Linked DNA regions of Homo sapiens: all the other regions are linked to region 4. The links are contacts of gene promoters, found by promoter capture Hi-C in human tissues and cell types (Jung and others, 2019). All regions are on one chromosome and are shown on one strand. The core of a region is centred on a gene start or on the middle of the fragment in contact, and the rest is flanking DNA. Distances in the headings are between cores, read along the strand shown.

Region 1 (2,700 bases), core at 74-2,573, 350 kb before region 4:
AGACAGGAACACAATAGAGAAAGGGTTAGATTGACTAAGAAATTTCTAGAAAATGAACCTTAAAAGGCGACTAGTAAATGAAGATATGCTCAAATGTAGTATATTTTGATAACTGCAAATTTAAATGGCAGTGATAGACGTTACACACTCACATTGGGACAAATTGGAAGACTGGACAATGCCAGGTGCTGGCAGGTGTATGGTGATAGGGCAAGCTTCCACCACAATAGGGGGTAGTAGAGACTAATGCAGACATTTTGGAGAACATTCTGTTAACATTTGGTCAAAATATGTGTATGTAAACCCCATGAACCAGCAATCTCACTGCTGGGATACATCTCAAAGAACTTCACACAGTTCTACTTTTCTTTTTCTTGCCTTATTGCTCTGGCTAGGATCTCAGTACAATGTAAAATAGATGGGGTAAGAACAGATTTTTTGCTGTGTTCTTAACATTAGGAGGAAAATATTTGATCTTCTCCATTAAATATATTATCTGTAGTTGTTCACTGATGCTCTTGATTAGCCATCATTTTTTCAAATATATTTTCTGTCCTTTTCTCATTTCTTTTCTTCTGGGATCCCAATTACATGTATGTTATGCTACTTGATACTGTCCTACAGGTCACGGAGTCTTTATTCAAGTTTTTCAGTCTTTTCGTCTCTACATTTCATTTTGCATAATTTCCATTGCTGTGTTTTCAAATCCGTTGATATGTTATTATGTAGCATATAATTTGAGGTAAGTTTCATTCCAGTAACACTTTCTTTTCATATGTTGTATTTCTTAATTTCTAGAATTTTTATTTTGTTTTTTCCATATGTTCTATTTATTTCTTCATGTTTTCCTTTAAATCCTTGAACATATTTACACTTGTGGTTTTAAACATCATTTTCTGATAATTTCACCAGCTCTGTTATTTCTATACCCGTTTCTATGATTGAATTTTTTCTCTTCATTATGGGTCACAGTTTCCTGCTTCATCTCTATCTTATAATTTTTGATTAGATGATTAGATGCCACACCTTATGAGTATTATGTTTCTGAGTAATTTGGACTTACTGGTTTTATTTTAAGGAGTATTTGAATTGTGAGAGGGAAACAGCTACATTACTCAGCTTACTCCGTTTGAGATTTGTTTTTAAATTTTATTAGAGCAATTCTAGAATAGCTTTTATGATTTTTCTTCTTTAGCCTTTACTGCATAGTTTGCTTCTTTTTCTCATCACACATGGTTTTATTGTGAAAAAAATTTAATATATAGAAAAGTTGACAGAATGATATGCAACGAACAGCCATATACTCACTGCCTAGATACACTGATTATTAAAATGTTACCGTGTTTAATTAATCTATCTGTAATATTCTGTATTTATTTTTTCTCACCATTAGAATGTATTCTTTTTCTCCAATTTTTCTAAATGTTACTTTTATATCTTTATATACTTGCTTAAACCTACCAAACATTGCCATATCTTTTAATCTATTCCCTGAACAAATGAGAAAAAATATGCATTTTTTTCCTGCCACTCACCCCCTTGCTTCCTGGTATGTGTGTGCACGTGTGTATTTAGGTGTATTGCTTTCCTTGAAGGTTTTGTCCATATCTATTGTATTTAAAATATTATTTTTATTATATATGTATTCCATCAAAAATTTAAGATTTAATTTTTGTTTTATAATCACAATGAACATAGTTATTTAAACTTAGATTTGTGTTTAAAATGGGATTTGTGATCTATGGATTCCAAAGTAGGCCATGGATTGATTTCCATAGATTTCTGAATAACACCAAGTAGAATGTACATTTTCAGGTATCTGGAGTGCACTTTCTTCTGAGAAGGTCCATGTCTTCCTCAGAATCTCCTAGGGGTTAAGAACAAATTAATTAAGTAATCCACATGCACAGTCCTTTTATACCATAACTTCCTATTCTTTTTTATTCATCTTTCTCATTGCTAGAAAACTTGTGCAAATGACCTTTTCCAGGAATTGTTCATTGGTAATATACTTCCCAAATTCTTGCTTTTGTGAGTATGCCTTTCTTTTGCCTTTACAAGAATAACAACCTGACGGTTTATGGGATATTTGGCCACAGCTTTCCTTTTAAAATTCTCCTATACTGCTAATGTGAATCCTGGACTAGCCTGATGATTCCCATTGTTGGTTACATATTTTCTCTGGCTGGATGTTTGTGACAATAGATGGCATTTACCAAGTACTTATTATGTGCCAAATAACAGGCTAAGTACGTTTGCAAACATTTTTGTATTTCATCTTCATTATAATCTTGTAAGTTACATACTACCTGCTTAATATCACAGCAATGCAGCTTGTACCCAGGTAATCTGACTGTAGTCTTAAGCAGTGCTATTCTGACTTAAAGGATTATTTTTCTTTTCGTCCTTAAAGTTCTGTACATTTGCTCAGAGACACTTTGGGTTTGACAAATTCTTTCCATTTGGCTACAGTGAGCCTTCGCCACCTGTATATTCCTCTTTTTGTGTTTGTTTATCATTTCTAACTTCTGTAGGCACACAAACTATGTGCTGAATCTTCATTGTTTGATTTCCATAGCTATTATCTTCACACTGATCTTTTTGTTTCCTTTGTCTCTCTTTCTTCATTCTGACTGATTATTTTCCCAGGATAGTTCTCTATGGATTCTAGTTTTTAATGTCAGTTCTGGCTTTGATTCT
Region 2 (2,700 bases), core at 39-2,538, 320 kb before region 4:
TGGGAAAAGAGTGGGCACCCTACGTGGCAATGTGCAGGCAGAGGACAATAAATTCATCCCAAACCAACCCTAGTTCACTTTTTTCATCGGCTTGAAAGGAGCTTTCTATTTGATTGCTTTGGGGAGATAATTAAAGTGGGACACGTGGCTATATGTAACCAAAATTTGTCAACATTGGTTATATTTAAATAAGACTTTCAACAGTGGTCTCACTTCTTGGTTGAAATCACACACAAAACACAGACATTTCATGGTTTCTTGCAAGCTCTTCCCTTCTCAGGGTGGAAGGGAAGTCTGAAAGAAAACATTTGCATAGATTCAGGCCAAAAGTAGCCTATCTTTGACTTTGTATGAGGGATTAGTGGCGAAGTGTTTATTTTGTTCCTTTTGAAATAGCTAGACAATGTACTGACTTTTCTACTGAAGATTTTAAGCCCAAAAAGCCCATCTAACAATCCCTCCCCTGGACCACTACGTTTTTCCTAAATGCCCAGAGCAGAGCATTTCAAGAGGTAGGGATGCTGTTAGTCCATTTGTATCTTCCTCTCCACAATTCTGACCTCATGCTCTGTACCATTTAGTCTTAGGAACTCACATATATGCACACACACACATACACACACACGTATGCATGTACACAGACATATGCGCACACGCAGGTATGCATGTGTACACACACGTACACACACACTCCTGCACCTGCCACAAGCTGCAAGGTTGTCCAGTGTCTCCATCAGATGATCCCCAAGTCCCTCACAGGCTTTCAAACTCTGGCAAGCCACTTTTCACCACAAATTCCAGTTTCTCAGGGCTTTCAGACACCCTGTAGATGTAATGATACACTCTCGGTTACTGCAATAATAATAATAATTTATACGCACGGTAGCCTTTCATCCATGAATGTTTTAACAATGACAAGTGCTACAGGAGCCCAGAGCAAAGCCTCTGGCCTCTCCCTGCAGCACCCAGCCCTCGCATGGGAGACATCATAGATCTCTCATTCTTCATGCCAACACCTCATAACCATTTCAGGCAGGAAGTAAGGAAATCTGTCCAGTCAAAACTGCAGAAAGGAGTTAGGTAATATAACACCTTTTATTTCTCTTCCCCAGAAACTCTGAGAAATGCACCAATTTGCAGAATAAACTACCCCCAGACAGTCCCCTTGAATTGTTGGTTTTGCCTGGGGATTACATATTTCCTGCGGTAGATTTTCTTCTTTCTTTGTCTTATTTCCACCCAGTACCAAATTTATTTAAAGAATAAGATAAAAATATCTATATGGCTAGGCTATCAGCCCCTCACATGAAGAGTGTGACTGTTCTATATTTACCTATCATTTAAAGATATCCCTATGAGACATATACTCTTTTCATAAAAGGCAGTATGTCCAATAGACCAAAAATTAAAATGAAGAAGGAGGCAGAAGAGGAGACTGATAAGAAGAGGAGAAGGGAGGGGAAGCAGCAGGTACATTCTCAAGAAAACAGCATCGGCCAGGCACGGTGGCTCATGCCTGTAATCCCAGCACTTTGGGCAGGAGTTCAAGAGCAGCCCAGCCAACATGAAGAAATTCTGTCTCTACTAAAAATACAAAAATTAGCTGTGGCGGCACACACCTGTAATCTGAGCTCCTCGGGGGACTGAGGCATGAGAATTGCTTGAACCCGGGAGGCAGAGGTTGCAGTGAGCTGAGATGGCGCCACTGCACTCCAGCCTGGGTAACAGAGCAAAGAGAGACAGGGAGAGAGAGAGAGGGAGAGAGGGAGAGAGAGAGAGGGAGAGAGAGAGAGAGGGAGAGAGGGAGAGAGAGAGAGAGAGAGGGAGAGAGAGAGAGAGAGAGGGAGAGAGAGAGAGAGGGAGAGAGAGAGAGGGAGAGAGAGAGAGGGAGAGAGAGAGAGAGGGAGAGAGAGAGAGAGAGGGAGAGGGAGAGAGAGAGAGGGGGGAGAGAGAGAGAGAGGGAGAGGGAGAGAGAGAGAGGGAGAGAGAGAGAGGGAGAGAGAGAGAGGGAGAGAGAGAGGGGGGGAGAGGGAGAGAGGGGGGGGAGAGAGAGAGAGAGAGAGAGAGAGAGGGAGAGGGAGAGAGAGAGAGAGGGAGAGAGGGGGGGGGGGGAGAGAGAGAGAACCACAACATGGAGGGGAGAAACACAGCCTGGAGACAGCTGGTTTTAAATCTTACCTCTGTAAACATTGATGAGGCCACGCTGACCATCAGTCTCCTTGTTGGTAAATGGAGATTAGAATCCATCCTTCTACAGTTGTTGTGAGGATTAAATAATAATTGGGACGTTTCTGGCACAGAGTAGGTACTCTTATTCCTGTGAATTCTGAAAACTGAGATGATTTGTGCTCATGGATAAGCTACCAGATGGTATCACTTTGCACTTACTGTTTCTTTTAGATGCTTTCAACCTGCTATTAAACCTGTGCTGTTGCATCAAATTATCCATTCACTGGCTTCAGGATAGTGAAGAGTTGGGCAAATAGGCTTCTGAGTTACCAGGAATGAAGCACAGGGCACCACGGGCAAGCCTGGACAGGATCCCTAACCCAGTCCTGGACGTTAGAGACAAAGTGAGGTCTAACAATTCCTTGACTCCCTTTCTATACCCTTAAAGATGTACCCAAGGTAATTTCTTTACATTCCATAGTGATTGTTGGTTTTTCTTTTTTTAGTGATTTAAAAAAGGCAGAGGGTCTA
Region 3 (2,700 bases), core at 145-2,644, 370 kb before region 4:
TGACTCCCCTGCCATCCAGATGTTGTGAAAGGTATTTCATTTATTTTTAAATTCATCCAATCATTCATCCAATGTCCACTCTCAGCAACATGTGTGAAAACCATGCTAAATATACATCCTCAGTGCCTGCCACCTTAGTGGGTCTGCAGTAAGTTGTCTATTGAGAAAAGCTTGGGTGCTGTAGTCTTATCGTCATTAAAAAGTGGGCAGGATCTATAAATAGCACCCAAATTTTAAACTACTTTTCTGGAGCAAAATGTTTGCTTAGTCTCGCCATGCAATATTTAAAACTATTTATTTTGAAGTAATTATAGATTGGCAGGAAATGGCAATGATAATATAGAACGGTCCTATAGACCGTTCACCCAGGTTCCCCTAATGGTAACATCTTGTGTAACTATAGTAGGACCAGGACATTGTCCCAATGTCAATTGCAGGTCTCACCAGCTTTACACATACTCATTTGTGTCATCACACATTTGCTGATTGTCTGGCATCTTTGAAGAGCTTACTTAGAACTTTTAGAGGCACAACTTTCTCCTAAGAGTCCATTTATGGTAGCTTCTAATTGGGCTAGTTTCTCAAGATCTCAGAGTCAGTATACTCTCTCTCTCTCGCTTTCTCTCTCTCTCTTTCTCGCTTTCTCTGTCTTTCTCAAGAACACAAGCAAATAGGGTTCTGATATGTAGTAGTAATGAAGAGATAAGAAAGTCTGGTACTTGTGGCTATTGATTAAAATCTGTGATTGGACCCAGCATAAAGCCAGGAGAGGGTAGAATTATACTAAGCAAATAGGCTTTATTCCAGAGGCTGAGGAGAACCTCCATCCCTAAACAGTGTGGCAAAAAAAGGAGCATGAGGAAGAGAAGAACTAATCTGTAACAGGCACATGCTGAATATTTCCCAGCAAGGTTCCATGTGCTGGGTGAGGAGGCTGGGAGCCCAGACAAACCCTGCACCGTGGTTCCAGCACTTTTGAGTTTGAGCTCCCTGCTTGCCAAGCTCCTGGTGATCCAGAGGACCTCAGGAAGATCCAGACAGTGGGGAGGGGCGGGGAGAAGAGGTGAGGGGGACTTTTCCCAGCCAAAACCTACTTCAATGGATCAGCCAGCCTCTGAATAGCAGCTTTTGACATCTCAGTGGGTTGTGAGGGAGGTGTGGTCATCACAAATGAAACAGACCACAGGGGGTGCAGGAGACCTCTGCAGGGCCCCTAATCAATTACTAAAAACATGGAGAGGGTCCTTGGAAAATGAGTGAAGGAGACAGACGCATGCTGACACTCAGTGGTATCGCTGGGCACCAAAGGAGAAACTGGGGGATTTTCAGCTTCACAGAGGATGGGGTGATTGTTTCCTTTCATCAGCCGTTGCCCTCAGAAAACAAAACAAAAACCAGAAGAGAAACATTGCCTATGGAAAAAAAATACATATAGAGGCTGAAAAGGAGGAAATAAAAGGAATGAAATTTGCTTTTACGAAATAATTTAAATAGTCTTGAATGCCCAGAGGGCCCAGGCACTATATTATGTGTTACAGAGAGGTTGCTATCTCCCAAAGGGGATATGAAATGGGAGATGAATATTATTAATCATCCCTATTTGCTATATGTTAGGAAACTGAGAAAAAGTGAAAATGAGTGATTTTCCTTCAGATTCACATGCTGTGGCAGCCACAGGGCTGGGATTGACAGACAAAAGCATGACGCCCTGCAAAGCAGAAGAGACACCAGCAGGCTGTGGGGGCTCATGCAGTTGAATGCAATGATGCCCAGGATCCCCATAAGCCACCTAGCAGCGGGGTCGTCTGCTGCCTGAAGTACCCTGTAGGAGTGGCTGGGGACTCCTTTGCTGGGTCATGTCCACCAGCAGTTCACCTGCTTGGCTTGGGCTGGCTCGAGTTCACTTAAAGGGACTTTAAGGGATTGGGTTGATGTTGAACCTCATTGATCAAACTGAGATTACAGGGAACAGACTAGAACATCAGATTCACTAGACAGGAACTATCTATTTAGTTTACTTCTATATCCCCAGGACCTGGAACATTGCCTGGGGCCCAATCCGTATGTGTGGGATAAAGGAACAGATCATATTGCCACTTTCTCGGTGCTGGTCATGGTGACAGGCACTAGAAACAGAGAGATGAATAAGTCAGCCCTTCCTGAAGAATTCTGTGAGCACCTAAGAGGTGTTATGAAGGGGTAGGGAGGAGGAAGTTCTTTGACCAAATAAACATAAGAAGTTTGGTTTTATTTCAGAAGGATTTCTCATAGACTTCAATAAGTGAATATGGCTTGTGAATTCCCAAGAGGGGCATATATTTGCATCCTTTCTGAAGTATAATTGATGTTAAAAACCCACTCCCTGTTCTGCACACACCTTTACAGTGTATACTGGGACTGGTGTTTGTTCCTTGGGGAAAGCATGGCACCTGCCCTTGAGTAGCTCCTGATCTCTTGGTAGCCACTTCCATCCAAGGTCTGCCAAGCAATAACTCGGTCTTCCATGCTCACTGGTCTGAGAGATGACTGGATCACTGTAAGACCACGACTGCCAACTACTTTACCCCAGACATTTTTGCCTACTGTGGTCCCTAGATAGTCGTTACCTGGATTCCCAACCCCAGGCCCTGGAACATATGGGTAGAAGTCCTAATCTCCTAAAAACAGTCAGTTCTAAATCTATGCATGTGCTCATGATCT
Region 4 (2,700 bases), core at 40-2,539:
GAAAGCGGGGAGCAGGGGGTTCCTCCTTACCTTTGAGGGATCTCGGTTTCGCTTGCTTGCGGCGAGACATCCTAAAAGCAAACAGCTGAAGTTGTTTCAATTCAGCCCTGAAAGAAACTATACTTCCTCGTGGCCGCGCGCCCCTCGGGCCGCGGCGCCTCGCGCCCTCCGCTCGGCCTCCCTCGCGCCCTCGCTCCGCGCTCCGCTCCTCGCTCCGGCTCCGGCTCGCGCTCGCGCGCGGGGCTCGCGGCTGCCCGAGCTCCGCGCTCTGCACGACGGCGGCGGCGGCGGCGGCGGCTGCTGCACCAAACTTTCCCAGCCTTCGACCCCCACCCCCAATCTCCAAGAAAAAAAAAAAAAAAGGAAAAAGAAAAAAGGAAAGGAGGGAAAAAAAGCTAAAAAAAAAACCCCAAAGACAATGTTTGAAGAGCCGTCAGCTACACTAAAAAGAGAAAATCCGTTACTATTTCCACCTCAATCAAAATTCACATAGTTCATGCGAATAGAAAAAAACTAATAAAAAGAAAAGCGTCTGGGTGATTTTTTTTTTCTTTACCGCTTTTCCTTTTCAACAAATCCGCCCCCCCCCCCACCGGAAAAAAACAAATAACACTGATTTGTTTACAAAGCGAGTCGTGCTCTTTTGTAGTTGGGGGGACGAGGGGGGGAAATCGACCCTGCAAGGCGATGAAAAGGTCTTGGAAAGAAAAATCTCCCACCATCCGAGGCAGATGCGAACGGGCCACGAAAATAAGCAAAGGGAAAAAAATACTTTTTTTCTCCCTTCCCCCCACCCTTTTTTTCTTAACCCACACTAAAGTAATTTCTTTCAAAAAGAAAAAGCCAAAGCACCCGAGCCGACGGCCCCCAGGTGGTGTGCGGGGCTGCTTGTGTGCAGGGGGTGTGCGGGGCCCGGGCTCGGGGCGCCCCTCTCTGGGCGGGGGCGCGGCGCCGGCGGCTGGCGCTGGACCGGGGCTCTAAAGTCTACGGCTGCCTCGGCAGCGGCGGCGGCAGCAGCGGCGGCAGCGGCGGCGGCAGCGGCGGCGAGAGCAGGAGGAGGAGGAGGAGGAGAGCCGGGAGCAGGAGGAGGAGAAGGAGTGTGCTGTGTGCTCCCTCCTCATCACAAACCTGCAAGGTCTTGGACTGCGCTGTCGCTCCGGTAGTCCACATAATAATGGAAAATGGAAGCAAGGCCCCCAAAGCCATCAGGATGGCTCCAGAGGGGGCCCCTAACCCGCAGGGACTCGCTCTGTACGTAATCACTGAGGAAATCATTGTCAGCCTGCCTGCACTCACACACAGACAGAGGGGCATGATTAAAAGGCGAGAGCGCGGGGAGCGGGAGGGAGGAGGGGGCCCGCCAAGACCCGGACTGGAGGCGCCGGCCGCGGCGCGCGGATCCGGAGCCAGGCGGCGGCCGAGCGCCCCGAGCCCCGCCCGCCGCCGCCGCCGCCGCCGCCGCCTCCCACGCGCCGCGCGCCCCGCCCGCTCCTGCGCCGCCGCCCCTCGCGCCGCCCGCCCGGCCGCTCGCACACCCCGCGCCGCCGCCGTCGCCGCCGCCGCAGCTGCGTTATTAGAGCTCCACGGCGGATCTCGGGGCTCTTCTGCTCGCTTTTTTTCCTCTTCAGAAATTAAAGCAGAGGAGCATCTGAAAGTGGAAAGGTCCCCCTTCTGGTAGGATGGATGTAAAAGGAGGCAACAATTTGTTCTTGAGGGGGCAAAAAAAAAAAAAAAAAAAAAGAAAAAGAAAAAGAAAAAGAAAGGAGGGGGGAAATTCATTGCTTGGCTTTTGCATTGTCGGACTTTAAAAAAGTGTGTCTGCTGTTGTTGCCCGGACTCGGGAAATCTTTTTTATGGCAACCGCAGACCTGCCAAGTCTCTCTTACTTGGAATCTTTATAAAGGCAAGTTATTTGGACTTTTTTTTTATTTTCTCGTTTAGAGAAAGTCATTGATGCTGACGAATGTCATAATGTGATTCAAAAGAGACAGCTTTGAGTTCACTTTTTTAACATTCTCAAATTGACATAGATCTTTGTCCAGAAAATAAAGCTTTCTGTTGATTTTTTCTTTAAGCAAGAGGTAAGGAAATATGCACTTAAGAATATGTGTACAAGAAAATAGTTTCTAAAATAAATTGAAATGTCTGCAGGTCGGTGGGAATTTTTGTTTCTTTTCGCAGTTTTGTTTTCTAACTTTTCACCTGCTCCCATCGCAAAACAAGAAACCATCACCTGTTTCCTTCTTTTACCTTATCTTAAGGGAAAGGATGTTTTAGTATTATTATTGTTGTTGCTATTTATTGATTGGACACGCTTGTCAAGTTATAAATGCCTGAGAGGGCTACCAAGTAGAGCTTAGATTCACAAGTCTTGGTGGAAATTAAGAGATTCAGAATACGGTTAATTACACAAAACAGGCAGAATTTTGTACAAATACTATTGTTCTTAATCAGATTTTAAAAATTCTCCGTTCTGTAAAATTAAGGTACAGCTATCTATTAAGCCACCATGCAAAGACATCAAAGCTTTAAGGAAGTTGTATTTTTTCCAGTCTAACCTGTAAACTGCCTGGACCCTCATGTGGATAGCTGCAAATACAGTATGTTTTTTTTCAATATCTTCATTATAATTAAATGAGTTTTCAATCCATCTGCAGTAATTCCTAAAGTGAAATCATAGTTGTAGTCAAATTTAACTTT
Region 5 (2,742 bases), core at 230-2,729, 310 kb after region 4:
TTCTAGGGGACTAAAACCTTTTGACTGCTCCTCAAATGGCCTTTCAAGCAGAAACATCTTCATCCAAATCTTAGCTCTGTCGATCTTGCTCTGTGCAATCTTGTGACGATAATGATATTTACTATATTAGTTAGAGAGTAAGAACAAACTGCTGTCATGAAGAGATCCCCAAAACACAATGGTCCAAACCAGATAGAAATGTCCTCATTTCGTGGGTAACCCACAATGGAAGTCAGCTTGGCTACCCCCCTGTTTTGGACAGTGAGGCTTTCCCCAGCACATTTCTTCATGATTCACTTAGAGCATTATCTTTGTCTGCCTGGTTTAAGCCTTGTTGCAGCAGGCAGAAAGAGGAAAGGGACTTCACAGTGGGGTCCCACCCAGCTGGGAGGTGTTGCCCCGCTCCAGGTCCATGACCATGGAAGCAGCTGGGCATCTGAGTGGGCAGCTGTAGTCCCTTCCCCAATCCCCTAGCAGGGTGATTTTAGAGGCAAACAGGATTATGAAGATAGATCGTGTAGCACACTGCCTGGCACCCATCACATTAGGTATTCAATAATGGTAACTATTATTCTTATCATCTTATTATTGGCCTTCCTGGTAATTCCTCCTCTTGCTATTTATCAAGTCTGTTCAAAACCTCACTCATGAAATAGAAAGTAAACAAATTTCTTTTTTTTTTTTGATATTGAACTTTATTTATTGTACCACATTGCATTGAAAATTTGGTTTAAAAATGTCTCATGAACAGCAACAATCCTGAATTTGTAACTTTCCTGAATTATAGCTAAATGTCTATATTCAGCTTTGAGCAGTTTTAGTAAATCAAATCAAATGTAACAATTATGATTATCCCTATTGATGTTCTAACATTGTGACGTCCACAAGGGAAGAGAGTTCAGAAAGTGAACACATTTCAACCCGCCCTTTTGAAGGGACCCACTGATGCCTCAGATCAAATCACAGTGGCTTAAAGTCAGGTTTGTGTGACTTTGGCACCAACTTGGAAATGGCTTGGTCACCAGAGAGGTTAACAAACAACTGTCCCATATATACCACATTTATCTTCCACATCTGTATGTCTTCTGTCACAGCAGCATTTGATACAGGGCTTGGAGTGCTTGTGGTTCATCAGTGGTGGGAGAGGTCTTTGGTGAAAGGGCGTGAGGTAGTCTGATCCCACAGGGAACTCTGGAAAAGGAGCAGGAGCAGGAGCAGGACTTGTACTACAAAATCAGTCCCCTTTGTACTCCGGTTCCAGGCAGCTTATGGCTGCAGGCCACAGGCTTCATGGGCAGTGAGCTCAATGTCCCTAACAGCCAACTTTGTAGCAACTTAGGAGATGACTGCCACAGCCTGTTAAAGGAGATGTGGGCCGTGCCCATCAGCAACCATTTTCTGCGGATGTTTGCTGCTTACTTTCGCCGTGTTAGAGAAACAAAGTACTGGGCCAAATCAGAGTAGAAAAAAGTTCTTATCTAGATGATTGGATCAGGAAAGGTTTTTGTCTCACTGTCACAGACTAAACTTCTCACTCCAGCCATCACTTGGCCACAGGGGCATCATAAGAAACATGCAAATTTTCACTACTACTGGAAAAGTGATTCCTACCACAACAAGAAAAAATGTTTTCTGCAAATAGGCATCCAAGCTACTTGTTATTATTTAACCTGTTAATGCAGTACCACTCTTCAGAAGCAACCTAGGTAATTAACACATTGCATGGACCCCAAACAAGAACATGGGTTGATTCAAATCACCACCTTTAACATATTTTCAAAACCATCTGAGAAGGATTTGGGGGAACGATTCAAGGCATTCTTAATCACTGCCTACTGTCCAACTTCCTTTATATAACACCTCTTAGATCTAAACCGAATTCTCCCTTCCCAGTACCCCTTTCCAAGGCCTTATGTCTTCATACCTAGATCAGTATAGTTTCACCTGCCACTAACTCTGGGACAAATCCCAAGGACTAGCTCCATCTCGAGTCAGCCTGAGCTTGGACACTGGTCCTGGGCTTTGTCTTGTTCTTTGTGTACAGGACATCATCTACCCCAGTTCCGGAAATGAGACCAATACTTTCTCCAATGCCTGATTTCCTGCTTTAGTTCCCACTTAGATGCCCCAGGTCCCTTAGGAATAGGTCCTTGTGCCCCTGAGTCCATTTGGAGATTTGCCCACTCACCAGTCCTGTGGCTTCCTGCTGCCTAGTGACAGCCTCCTTGGGCCACATGCCACATGCCCACTCACCTGCCTGCCTGCATCTGCACCTAAGGTCGACTGCCAGACAGCTCTCCTTCCCACAGAATGGGAAGAACAGATGGAATAGTCTTGACAAAGTGGTGTAAAGAGAGAAAATGCCAGCTACACTGCAATAGGAAATGAGAGTTAAACTCCTTTATGAGAAAAGGGAGTTGCTAAAAATGGAGGCCATGGAAAGGGGGAGGCTGCCCTCCTTCCATCCTGATGGTTGCTGTCAGTGGGACTACAGAACACAGCCATTGAGGGCTTGTGTCCTGGGATGAGACCTGACTTACAGCCCAGCGCACCACTCACTAACAGCTAAGAGAGGACAAACACATCACCCACCAGGTTCAGGTCCCCATCTGTAAAGTAGGAGTAATAGCACTCTGTCCTCCCAGCTACTTCTCTTGCTGGAATTCAAAGAGATACAATATGTAAAGTCTCTTACAATTGTTCCTTAAGCATAGGCCTGATACACAAGAAATGCTCAATAAA
Region 6 (2,700 bases), core at 199-2,698, 380 kb after region 4:
TTCCCAGAGCCAAGTGCAGGAGACACAGGCCCAAAGCTGTAGAGAATACCAGTTACAGGTGGCCCCCAGGGCTCTGATCAGAAAAGCTTCTCTGAGGAGGGGGCTCAGTTACCCTCTAAGTGTCCCCTACTGCGTGCATTGGTGCTGGCCTTCCTGTTCTCATCCTCCACCACATGGCCATCTGAACCCTGCCACTCATCAACCATCCCGGACAGTGATGATCTGACTTCTGGCCAACTTCCAAGAAAGCATCTCTGGGCTCCACACTCACAAATGTCAGGACACTTAAGCTATTTCTACTACCTTGTTAAGAAGGAAGATTTACAAAGAAACTCACAAGCAAAAGTATAATTCACAAGTATGGCAAAGTCACAGTTGCTAGGTGGGCAAATACCACAAGGGCCACGTTAATCCTATTACCATACAAACGTGCAAGATTATCTTCCACAGTGCAATGTGCTACTCTGGGAAAGAGGAAATAGCTTTGGCCATACAGAACACTTTATTTAGAACTTGAGGCCACGGCAACAGCTATGTGTAAGTGGTACAAAGTCAAAATTAGCCAAACAGTAAGAAGAAGAGCCATTTATCACTTCTTGTCTCTTTAGACTTCTTAAAAAGATGGCTTCCCTGACACTATTGCTTGTGCTGATTTAGTATGCCATCTTAACCCCCTACACACCAGGAAGGTGAGCCAGGTTTCTGGTCCTGAGTCACAGGACTTCTTAACACAGGTAGAACACTTGACTTCTGACCCAAATGGCCAAACTATGAGAAATTCTACATGCTTTGCATCAGTCAGGATTCTTAATTGCAAGGGAAAGAAGTTGACTCTTACTGATCAATTAGAAAATAACATTATTGTCAGGATACTGGGTAGCTCACAGAATGGTAAAGAGGTAGAAAATGAGTTGCCAGGCGAGGTGGCTTACGCCTATAATCCTAGCACTTTGGGAGCCCGAGGCGGGTGGATTGCCGGAGCTCAGGAGTTTGAGACCAGACTGGGCAACAAGGTGAAACCCCGTCTCTACTAAAATACAAAACAATTAGTCAGGCGGGGTGTTGTGCGTCTGTAATGCCAGCTACTCAAGAGGCTGAGACAGGAGAATCGCTTGAACCCAGGAGGCAGAGGTTGCAGTGAGCCAAGATTGCACTCCAGCCTGGGTGACAGAGCAAGACTCCATCTCAAAAAACAAAACAAAACAAACAAAAAAAAAAAGAAAGAAAGAAAGAAAAGAAAATGAGCTTGTGGGGAAGTTTCCAGGAAACATACCCCAAAGCCTTGAACTGGTCTAACAGGAGAAAAAGCGTCACTGCTGCTGTCACTGAGCATGAGACTTCAGATTTGTTCTGAACCCTCTTCTGCATAAGGCAGTTGAATTTACCAGGCCCAATCCACTCCTGTGCCAAGAATTCAACCTTGCAATCGCCCGCCAGCCTCAGCATGCTAACTTTTGTCCTTAGGCCTGTTGCCCCAGGGTCTCAAAATGGCTGCCACTGCTCTAAACACAATCACATTCTAAGCAGGAAAAAAGGCAAGAGGTAAATTTTCCTCTTTCATCAGGAAGCAATCATTTTCCAGTAATTTCAAAGCAGACTTATCTTTACTTCTCATTGTTCAGACCTGAGTCTTGCTCCCTACCTCTCTCAATCTTGAAGGCAGTCTGGAAAAGAGGATGTCTGGGAAATGGGGTTGAGTCACCCCTTAGGGCTACGTACATTGACAGTCTTCACAAACTTGGGGTTCTGTGGTAAAGTGTATAGAATAAGTATGGTCTATTGGTAACAGAAATGGTATGTTACCTCCCACTGATCTCTTGAATTTGTTCCCTGGTGCTAGTTCTGCTCCTAAACATATTAAAAACTTGAGAAGGAAGCTTTTTCTCATCACTCAGATTACCTGTAATTAGAATCCTCAGTCCCATGATATAGTCAAAATTTCAGTATTGTTGAAATCCTTCCTCATTTCCATTTCCTCATGAGCGTCCCCGCCCATAAAAAGTACCCGTGCAATCTGTACCCTGGCAATTTTTGAGAAAACAGGTCTTACAAACAGCCACCTCTCCATTGGCTCATCCATTCACAGCTACTAAGCCCTTCTTTTATGCTTTAGACTTCTTGGGTGGCCCACAAGATCCCTTAATTTCAGGAAATGAATATCAAGTTCTAAAATACATCACAAAAGCCCCTCTCACAGGCTAAATGAGTAGGGGAATATCCTCTGTCGTTCACCCTGGTGAAATTGGGATCACAGCATAGCATTAGCTGACTCCCTCAAAACATGTTCCTAAAAAACCTCTCTCAGTCTCTGCTGTATATTTCTATATACCCATCACATGGTTGAGAAGTTCAAGAGTCCTGTAACTAGTTTTTGGTTGCCTTATTTTTTACCATATTCGACAGGGAGATCTGTTTTCCAACTCACATTCACATTTGATATCTCTCTTCTTAGGAATTCTGTTACAATGTCCTGTTACAGATGGAGGAAAGTGAAAAGGTTATTTTTTCCACAACTAACTGCATCTGCCACAGATTTTAAAATGTAACATATAATTTCACTTCCCTCCATGAAGGATTAATTGCTACAAGAATTGTCATCTTGCCATAAACAACAGAAATTGAAACAAAATATATGAAATAAGTACTTTCAGACGTTGAACAGAAACAATGAAAAATTGTGATCCCTGAGGAAAAAAAAGA
Region 7 (2,753 bases), core at 157-2,656, 390 kb before region 4:
GCAATCACAGCCATGACTCCTTTCATGAGGTTCATTGTTCCAATTCTCCAGTCAGCTCCCCCTAAGGAGAATAAGCCTTGATGTGGTCAGGTGTGATGAAGTGAAAGCGTAATGGGAGAAGTGAGGGTGGGGAAGGTCCCCAGGGTTGAGGTGCTGTCTGGAAGGGAGCCACAGAAGAAGGAGCAAGACACAGGCACCTAATGGGGCAGGGGCAGTGAATGTGAAAGGAAAGGATTTGGGGCAGGAGTGAGTGGAGCACAAAATGATAGGGTGCCAGAGAGGGACAGCACTGTCACAAGAGCAGCTTATCCCACATTTCTGTTGGGGGACAATCTGTTGGGGTAAAGCTTATCTCACATTTCTGACTTCCCATCCATTGGAAGAAATGTACAGTCCTTAAACAGAAATCTGGCAAAATAGGTTCTGCCTTCCAGGGATTCTCCCTAAGGCATCCAGATGCAGTTACATTCTCCTTTTGTATAATATGTGTTCTCCTCTTCCTCCTTAGTAGGAGAGCCCTGATTCTGTTGAGTGTGCCAATGTTACCAAAAAAGTATTTTCTCCTCCCTAGGCTTCCTTGTAGCCAGGGGTAGATTTGCTTTGGTTCTGGCTATTGAGATGTAAATGGTCATCCAGATAGGGCTTGGGGTAAAGCTTGCTAAAGGAGGACAACTCAACTGACAAGTCCCTTTTCAGCTTTTGCCTTTGGTTCTTCCCCTTTTTCCTGCCTAGGACTAGATGTGATGACTGGAGGGGGAGCAGCCATCTTGTGTCCATGAAGACAGGAACACAGATTAAGGAGGATGGAGCAGAAAGGCGAAGGGAACTAGGACCCCTTATGGTCTGATGGCACTGCAGTGCTAACTCTGGACTGTCTACATCTGGAACATGTGTCAGTGAGAACAATACTACATTTTGGTTAGACTATTTTTCCTGAGTTCCTGTTACATATGTAATCTGTCTACCAAAGGCTAAAGATGGAAGAAGGGGCTAGGTATTCACGTTTCAGTTCTTTTTGGCTCTCCTCTTTTTTTCAAAGTGGCCTGTCCTCAGGATATAGAGATTCTTTGTTTCTCCTTGCACCATGCTCACTATGTGGGTTCTACCCGTTGGTGGTGACAGGGAATAGTCTGCAGCTAGGTGGGTAAGCTCAGTTCAGAGAGGAAACTGTGAGGAAGCCCAATTGTGGCCACACATCTAAGCACTCTGTAATCTTTAAAATCTCCTTATCAGAGACAAAGCTCATATGTGGCCCTCCATCTGCCTAATTTCTGGTCCATCCCTTTTTTTTTTTTTTTTTTTGAGACAAGATCTCACTCTGTCAACCAGGCTCAAGTGCAGTGGCACGATCTTGGCTCACTGCAGCCTCGACCTCCCAGGCTCAAGCGATTCTCCCACCTCAACCTCCCAGGTAAATGGGACTACATGTGTGTGACTCCACACTCGGCTAATTTTTTTGTAGAGATGAGATTTCGCCATGTTGCAGGCTGGTCTCGAATGCCTGAGCTCAATCAGTCTGCCTGCCTTGGCCTCCCAAAGTGCTGGGGTTACAGGCATAAGCCACCAGACCCAGCTGTGTCCATCTCTTAATAGGTCTAGAATTTGGAGAAGAATCTTATGCGAAGGTGCTTTGGGCCCCTCACACTCCAGAACCGTTTTGCCAACCGACAAAGCTGCCTTAATGGCTTTACAAACCCATTTCTTAGTAGTCTATAGGTTGGTGCAAAAGTAATGGTGGTTTCTGCCATTACTTTTGCACCAACCTAATAGATCCCATGTATGCCACTGAGAGAGAAGTAGAGACTGAATATGATCTTTCTTATTGCTGTATGCACACCACTGCCACCCACACAAATGCTCAGAGCACATGCAATGCTCTTACACAAATATTCTCTCCTACAACAGCTTGAGAGGTGAGAGGCTGTCTCCTGAGAGATGTATGCTTTACAAGCCTGCATGTGGAATCCAGTCCATTTACTAATAGGTACCCACTGAGCATTTCCTTATTAAGTAAGTTCCTCTACTAGATATAAGCTCCATGAGGGCAAACTTGGTCTAGCTGTTTACCATTGTGTGCCCAGAGCCTGGAAGGGAGGCTAAATAAGAAGTGCTCAATAGATAATATATATATAATTTTACATATATAATATATAATCTATGTAATATATATTTATATATATGATTATATATAATTACATATAATTAGTTTTACAAAGGCAGTTTAGTTTTGGGACTATATATTATATATGTAATATAATATAGATAATAGATAATTATATATGTAATATAATATAATATAGATATACACTTATGTGTATATATAATATATATAATATAAATATATATAATATAGATAATATACACTTACGTATATATTTCTTAAATGAATGAACAAATTAATGAAGTCATCTCCAAGTAAGCTAAATTATTTAGTTAGTTTCCATCTATCTAAGTGAAAACTGATTTTGGATGATTTCCTCTACTTTTTAGTCAACTCAGCACTGTTCTTTAATGATTCAATCTCTTGAAAGTACCTTCTAATGGGCTTGGTTATTTTATTTATTCTGTTTTGCTCAATCGCAGATAAATTTGCATTCGATTGGTCCTAAATGGTTGGCAAAGACCGATCCTTGGCTAAGACTCATCTAACCATAACAAGACAAGCTGCATTTGGGCACTTTTCCACAGAAGCAAAAAAATATTTCCCACAAATATTCAATTCTTCATTTATGGGTGAACTGTTCTGCATGAAT

Evidence for each region. Contacts are between HindIII fragments. The study calls those that stand out against the background at their distance.
Region 1: a fragment that was not itself captured here is called in contact with the fragment with the promoter of ZNF521 in region 4 in 2 of the 25 tissues and cell types used here (H1 embryonic stem cells and lymphoblastoid cells).
Region 2: a contact is called between a fragment that was not itself captured here and the fragment with the promoter of ZNF521 in region 4, in 1 of the 25 tissues and cell types used here (IMR-90 fibroblasts).
Region 3: a contact is called between a fragment that was not itself captured here and the fragment with the promoter of ZNF521 in region 4, in 1 of the 25 tissues and cell types used here (small bowel).
Region 5: a contact is called between a fragment that was not itself captured here and the fragment with the promoter of ZNF521 in region 4, in 3 of the 25 tissues and cell types used here (lymphoblastoid cells, mesenchymal stem cells and mesendoderm cells).
Region 6: a contact is called between a fragment that was not itself captured here and the fragment with the promoter of ZNF521 in region 4, in 2 of the 25 tissues and cell types used here (H1 embryonic stem cells and mesenchymal stem cells).
Region 7: a contact is called between a fragment that was not itself captured here and the fragment with the promoter of ZNF521 in region 4, in 3 of the 25 tissues and cell types used here (H1 embryonic stem cells, mesendoderm cells and stomach).

The regions. Positions count from the first base shown.
Region 1 is chr18:24,999,433-25,002,132 of GRCh38, forward strand. No RefSeq gene overlaps it. Among named protein-coding and RNA genes, the nearest start is that of LINC01894, 13 kb to the left of the region's middle. The HindIII fragment of the contact is 4,541 bases long and covers 1-2,700 here.
Region 2 is chr18:25,031,764-25,034,463 of GRCh38, forward strand. No RefSeq gene overlaps it. Among named protein-coding and RNA genes, the nearest start is that of LINC01894, 45 kb to the left of the region's middle. The HindIII fragment of the contact is 4,825 bases long and covers 1-2,700 here.
Region 3 is chr18:24,978,281-24,980,980 of GRCh38, forward strand. All of the region lies in intron 1 of LINC01894 (long intergenic non-protein coding RNA 1894), which reads right to left. Among named protein-coding and RNA genes, the nearest start is that of LINC01894, 8.3 kb to the right of the region's middle. RefSeq lists an enhancer at 872-1,429. The HindIII fragment of the contact is 5,645 bases long and covers 1-2,700 here.
Region 4 is chr18:25,350,877-25,353,576 of GRCh38, forward strand. It overlaps ZNF521 (zinc finger protein 521), which reads right to left and starts at 1,290. Exons shown (of 8, transcript NM_015461.3): 1 at 1,129-1,290; 2 at 31-71. The coding sequence starts at 70. RefSeq lists a silencer at 1,316-1,385. The HindIII fragment of the contact is 6,455 bases long and covers 1-2,288 here.
Region 5 is chr18:25,665,333-25,668,074 of GRCh38, forward strand. No RefSeq gene overlaps it. Among named protein-coding and RNA genes, the nearest start is that of ZNF521, 310 kb to the left of the region's middle. The HindIII fragment of the contact is 7,189 bases long and covers 1-2,742 here.
Region 6 is chr18:25,727,558-25,730,257 of GRCh38, forward strand. No RefSeq gene overlaps it. Among named protein-coding and RNA genes, the nearest start is that of SS18, 360 kb to the right of the region's middle. The HindIII fragment of the contact is 5,767 bases long and covers 1-2,700 here.
Region 7 is chr18:24,961,012-24,963,764 of GRCh38, forward strand. All of the region lies in intron 1 of LINC01894 (long intergenic non-protein coding RNA 1894), which reads right to left. Among named protein-coding and RNA genes, the nearest start is that of LINC01894, 26 kb to the right of the region's middle. The HindIII fragment of the contact is 4,376 bases long and covers 1-2,753 here.